Linked DNA regions of Homo sapiens: region 1 is linked to region 2. The links are contacts of gene promoters, found by promoter capture Hi-C in human tissues and cell types (Jung and others, 2019). All regions are on one chromosome and are shown on one strand. The core of a region is centred on a gene start or on the middle of the fragment in contact, and the rest is flanking DNA. Distances in the headings are between cores, read along the strand shown. Region 1 overlaps LOC105379136 (a long non-coding RNA gene). Region 2 holds the start of CDO1 (cysteine dioxygenase type 1).

Evidence for each region. Contacts are between HindIII fragments. The study calls those that stand out against the background at their distance.
Region 1: a contact is called between a fragment that was not itself captured here and the fragment with the promoter of CDO1 in region 2, in 1 of the 25 tissues and cell types used here (small bowel).

Annotation. Positions count from the first base shown.
Region 1 is chr5:116,905,347-116,908,046 of GRCh38, forward strand. All of the region lies in intron 1 of LOC105379136 (a long non-coding RNA gene), which reads left to right. All of the region lies in intron 2 of LOC105379135 (a long non-coding RNA gene), which reads right to left. Among named protein-coding and RNA genes, the nearest start is that of LINC02214, 140 kb to the left of the region's middle. The HindIII fragment of the contact is 7,340 bases long and covers 1-2,700 here.
Region 2 is chr5:115,815,365-115,818,064 of GRCh38, forward strand. CDO1 (cysteine dioxygenase type 1) reads right to left here and starts at 1,295. Exons shown (of 5, transcript NM_001801.3): 1 at 864-1,295. The coding sequence starts at 1,033. LOC124901049 (a long non-coding RNA gene) reads left to right here and starts at 1,724. Exons shown (of 2, transcript XR_007058908.1): 1 at 1,724-1,807. The HindIII fragment of the contact is 9,051 bases long and covers 1-2,700 here.

The DNA.
Region 1 (2,700 bases), core at 95-2,594, 1.1 Mb after region 2:
AAATATGTAATAGATTTATTGTTCCTTGTAATATATGAATAAAATTTTTAAAAATTAGTTTTAATTTCAAATATTAAGAGATATAACTCATGTAAAAAAGCCCATTGGAGAGCTTCAGTGATTTTTAAATGAGGGGTTCTGAGTTCAAGGAGTTTGAGAACTGCTAGCATATCTTAATCTCTCAGTTTGAAAATCTCCCTCTCAACTACAGGCATGCCTCATTTTATTGCACGTTTCTTTATTGCACTTTACAGATATTGAGTTTTTTTTTTTTACAATTTGAAGGTTTATGGCAACCCTACATTAAGCAAATCTATTGGCACCATTTTTTCAACAGCATGTGCTCACTTTGTATTTCTGTGTCACATGTTGGCAATTCTCACAATATTTCAAACGTTTTCATTATTATATTTGTAATGGTGATCAGTGATCGGTGATCTTTGATGTTACTATTGTAATTATTTTGGCATCCCTTGAACCATGCCCGTATAAGATGGCAAAACTGAACTGATAAACATTGTACGTGTTCTGACTCTTCCACTGACCAGCCGTTTCCTCTCTCCCTCTCCTTGGGCGTCCCTGTTCTCTGAGATAAAAAGATCTTGAAATTAGGCCCATTAACAACCCTTCAGTGGCCTCCACTTAGAGTGAAAGGAAGAGTTTCAAGTCTCTCACCTTAAATCAAAAGCAAGAAATTACTAAGCTTAGTGAGGAAGGCATGTCAAAAGCTGAGACAGGCTGCAAGCTAGGCCTCTCGTGCCAGATAGATGAGTTGCTAATACAAAGGAAAGTACTTGAAGCAAATTAAAAGTGCTACTCCAGTGAACACACAAATGATATGAAAGCAAAACAACCTTATTGCTGATACAGAGAAAGTGTTATTGGTCTGGAATAAAGATCAAGCCAGCCACAACATTCCCTTAAACCAAAACCTAATCCAGAGCAAGGCCCTAACTCTTTTCAAATCTGTGGAGGCTGAGAGAGGTGAGGAAGCTGCAGAAGAAAAGTTTGAGGTTAGCAGAAGCTGATTCAGGAGGTTTAAGGAAAGAAGCTGTCTCCATAACTTACAAGTGCAAGGTGAAGTAGCGTGTGCTGATGTGGAAGCTGCGGAGGTTATCCGGAAGATCTAGCTTAGATAATTGGTGAAGGTGGCTACAGTAAACAAAAGATTTTTAATTTAGACAAAACAGCCTTATGTTAGAGGAAGGTGCCATCTAGGACTTTCATAGCTGGAGACGAGAAGTCAGTGCCCAGCTTCAAAGGACAGGCTGACTCTCTTGTTAGCAGTTAATGTAGCTGGTGACTTTAAGTTGAAGCCAATGCTCATTTACCATTCTGAACACCTTAGGTCCCTTAAGAATTATGCTGTATCAACTCAGCCTGGGCTCTATAAATGGAGCAACAAGGTCTGAACATCTGTAAACATCTGTTTACAGCCTGCTTTACTGACCACCTTAAGCCAGCTGTTGTGGCCTACTACTCAGAAAAAAGACTCCTTTCAAAATATGATTTCTTATTGACAATGTACATAGTCAAGCAAGAGCTCTGATAGAAATGTACAAGGAGATTGGTGTTGTTTTTAATGCCTGCTAATATAACATTTATTCTGCAGCCCATAGATCAAAGCGTCATTTTTACTTTCAAGTTGTATTATTTAAAAATACATTTCATAATGCTATAGCTGCCATAGGTAGTAATTCCTCTGATGGATCTGGGCAAAGTAAATTGAAAATCTTTTGGAAAGGATTTAGCATTCTAGATGCCATTAAGAACATTGGTGGTTCACAGGAGAAGGTCAAGATATCAACAGAAGCAAGAGTTTGGAAGAAGTTGCTTTCAACCCTCATGAATGAGTTTGAGAGGTCCAAGACTTTAGTGGAAGAAGTATTTGCAGATGTGGTGGAAATGGAAAGAGAACTAAAATTAGAAGTGGAGACTAATGATGGGACTGAATTGCTGTAATCTCATGGTAAAACTTGAATGGATGAGGGTTGCCTCTTTTTTTAACTGCTAATTTATGTTCAGGGTACATGTGCAGGTTTGTTACATAGGTAAACTTGTGTTGTGAAGGTTTGTTGTACAGATTATTTCGTCACCCATGTATTAAGCCTAATACCCATTAGTTATCCTTCCTGATCCTCTCCATCCTCTCAACCTTCATCCTCTAATAGGTCCCAGTTTGTGTTTTTCCCTCTCTGCACCCATGTGTTCTTACCATTTAGCTCCCACTTATAAGTGAGAACATGCGGTATTCGGTTTTCTGTTCCTGTGTTAGTTTGCCAAGGATAATGGCCTCCAGCTCCACACATGTCCCTGCAAAGGCCATGGTCTCGTATAAGTTGTTCTCTTAAAAGACGTGTACACATGTATGTTCATTGCAGCACTATTCACAATAGCAAAGACATGGAATCAACCTAAATGTCCATCAATAATAGACTGGATGAAGAAAATGTGGTACATATACACCATGGAATAATGTAGCCATAAAAAAGAGAGTTGCTTCTTATGGATACACAGACAGTGGTTCTTGAGATGGATTCTACTCCTGGTAAAGGTGCTATGAACATTGTTGAAATGACAACAAAGGATTTAGAACATTTAATAAACTTAGTTGATAAAGCAGCAGCAAGTTTTGAGAGGACCGACTTCAATTTTGGAAGAAATTCTACCGTAGGTAAAATGCTATCAAATGCTATCAAA
Region 2 (2,700 bases), core at 45-2,544:
CCAGCTTACCAGGGCACCTCACTCAAGTACATCTGGGAAGTAGGGGTCTTTAATTTACATTACAGATCGTCAGAAGCAAGGATAAGATAAATCAGATCATTTGGGGGCTGAAAAAAACGACGGTCGAATATTTAATCTGCGAAACTTGGCAGTGGATTTGAATAAACCCACAGTCGGGGAAGTTAGTTAAATTGGTTTGGGAAAGGGAACAGCAGAAATTCCGTAGTGGCAGCTGACGGCCACAAGACGCTATTTTACATGAGTAAAAATGCTTGCTATAAGGTGCCCGGTTGCAGGCGACCGAAGGCGCAGTGATGGAGAACTGACGCGGGTGACTTGTCTTCTTCAACATCACACACTTCTCCCGATGGCTGATGTAGTGCTCCCCTGGGAGCACCCTCTGCTAGTCCGGCCAGACGGTTCCTTAAGGTGTCAGGAGGGCCCGAACCTGAGTGCGGTCTCTCCGCATCTCCGCGCCCGGGGTTAACGATGGCTTGGGAGTGTGGGCATTGCTCCCGAGGCCAGGGGCAGGAGGACTGGTGGTTTAGAAGCAGAGGGGTTTGCGGGAGAGAAGAGAACAGAAAATCTCGCAGACGCGCGGTGGCCTCCCTTCCCGGCGCCTGTCCGCCGTTCCCGGCCGGAGGTCAGCAAGGCCAGTAGGATCCACCTTCCGCCTGCGCTGTGGCCGCGGAGCCCCAAGCGAGTCGTGCCAGCCCCGCGGCTGGCCAGCGAGGGGGCGAGCGGCGGACGCAGCGCGGCCCGAGCTTCCCGAGCCAGTCACTTTGGGCTGCGTCCCCCACGTCCATTCCTCCTCAGACGGGGCGAGTGGGCGCCGCCTGGCATTGAAGCTGCAGCGCGCTCACCTGTACTGGTCGAACTTGGCGTACATTGCCCACTCGGTGGGGTCGCTCTCGTAGGCTTCCATGATGGCCTGCACCTCCTCTACATTGACCTCATCGCCGGCAAAGAGCTGGTGCAGGATGCGGATCAGATCAGCCAGGGTCCGTGGCTTCAGCACTTCGGTCTGTTCCATCTCGTGGGGAGCTGGCTGCGCGCGCGTCTCACTGCTGGGCTGCGGTGGAGGAGCTGAGCGAGCCAAGGAGCTGGGGGCGAGGGAGCCTAACAGCCCGCTAGACCGCTAAGCAGACACACACGCACAAACCCAGCATTAGAGTGCCGAAACGTAAGGATGTCGTCGCAGAGACAGCAAGAGACCCACCCCCAGGCCCCTGGCAGCGCAGTGGATCCGGGATCGCTGGAGACGCGGTGCACACACAAATCAGGTTCAGATCTGTGGGGTTCATCCTCCCGGGCCCCTTTTAAGCGCTTGGAGTCACTAGGAATGTACCAACGGCCCTCGGAGGGAGGACGAGGCGGAGAGCCACCCAAGAAAGGTGGCGGAGGCGGGGAGACCCTGCGGGCACGGCTCACGCGCACATCCCCGGCTTCCCCGGGCTCCGCGCCTTCCCAAGAGCCCCGTTGTCTCCGGCGTCCCAGGGATCGCGTGGGCTCCGCGCAATCTCTCCCCCACTTTAACGGCGCGTTTTAGCCGCCCGGCCTAACGCCTCTCCCCGCTCCACCTCCGCCGCTGTGGTTCGCGACGCTGGGACGTAGACAAAAAGGGTCGGAGGAGATGGCTGCGGGGACTGACGCTGAGTAAAGGAGGAAAAGAAAAGGGAAGGAGAGGGACACTTCTTCCAAATAGAGAATTGTGAGGAGCCTGCGAAAATTGAGGATGGATTCCACTCCTAGGCCAGAGAGTGCCTGTTTTGTCGATTGAAACTATCCACGATATGCCCCAGGCTAGGTGAAAATAAGTCCAAGACTTTATATATATATATATTTAAGTATACACACACACATATTTTTTAAAATGCGTACTGAAATATATTTTGACAAAGGAGACTCGGGTCTCTAGTAAGACAATTAGTGAAATGATGGAAAACCAAGAACTCTTTGATTTTAAAATCAAATATTTTCTTTTAAAAAATATCCAGTGCAAATAACCTGATATTTCATTTGATGGTGTAAAAGGGGGCTTTTTCTGAGGGGATAGGGCGGGCTCTGACGCAATAATTTAAGAGGCTATAATTATATTTGAATCTTTCAACCTTAGGCATGTGCTTGAAGGAGCCTGCTAGTACATACATATAAGGAAACACGTTTCTACGTCATGCATAGCACCTAGTACGTTGGGAACAACACAAATCAAGTACAGTAGGATTTAAATGAGAAAGATGTGAAAGGTGGAAGAAATGCAAGTGTAGATTTCTTCCTTCTCATTATGGATGGACGCAGGGAATAATTTGGATTTAAGGTTATTAAAGTTCTAGACTTCTGAAGACCTGTTTTTTTCTAGACTATGATCACCCTCCCTCGTGTATATACATGTATACAATGAAATTTACTTGTGCCAGGTAGTCTTAAACATCTCTGGTAAAACTCGCTACATTATATTCTAACAGTGTTGTTAAAAGCGGAATCACCTATTGTTCAAAAATGGCTACAAGTAGAAAGCATTCCAGAAGCCAGCCTTGGTGATGTGTGTTGCTGCGGGGTAGTGAATTAACAAAGTATTTTGTGACAGAGTAACCTGTAAACTTTTCATGGTTTCCTCAAATTATTTTTTATTCTTGGCAATGTTTTCTATTGAGTCTCTTAATTACTTCATTTCAGCTAGTCTAATCCATAAATGTTTGG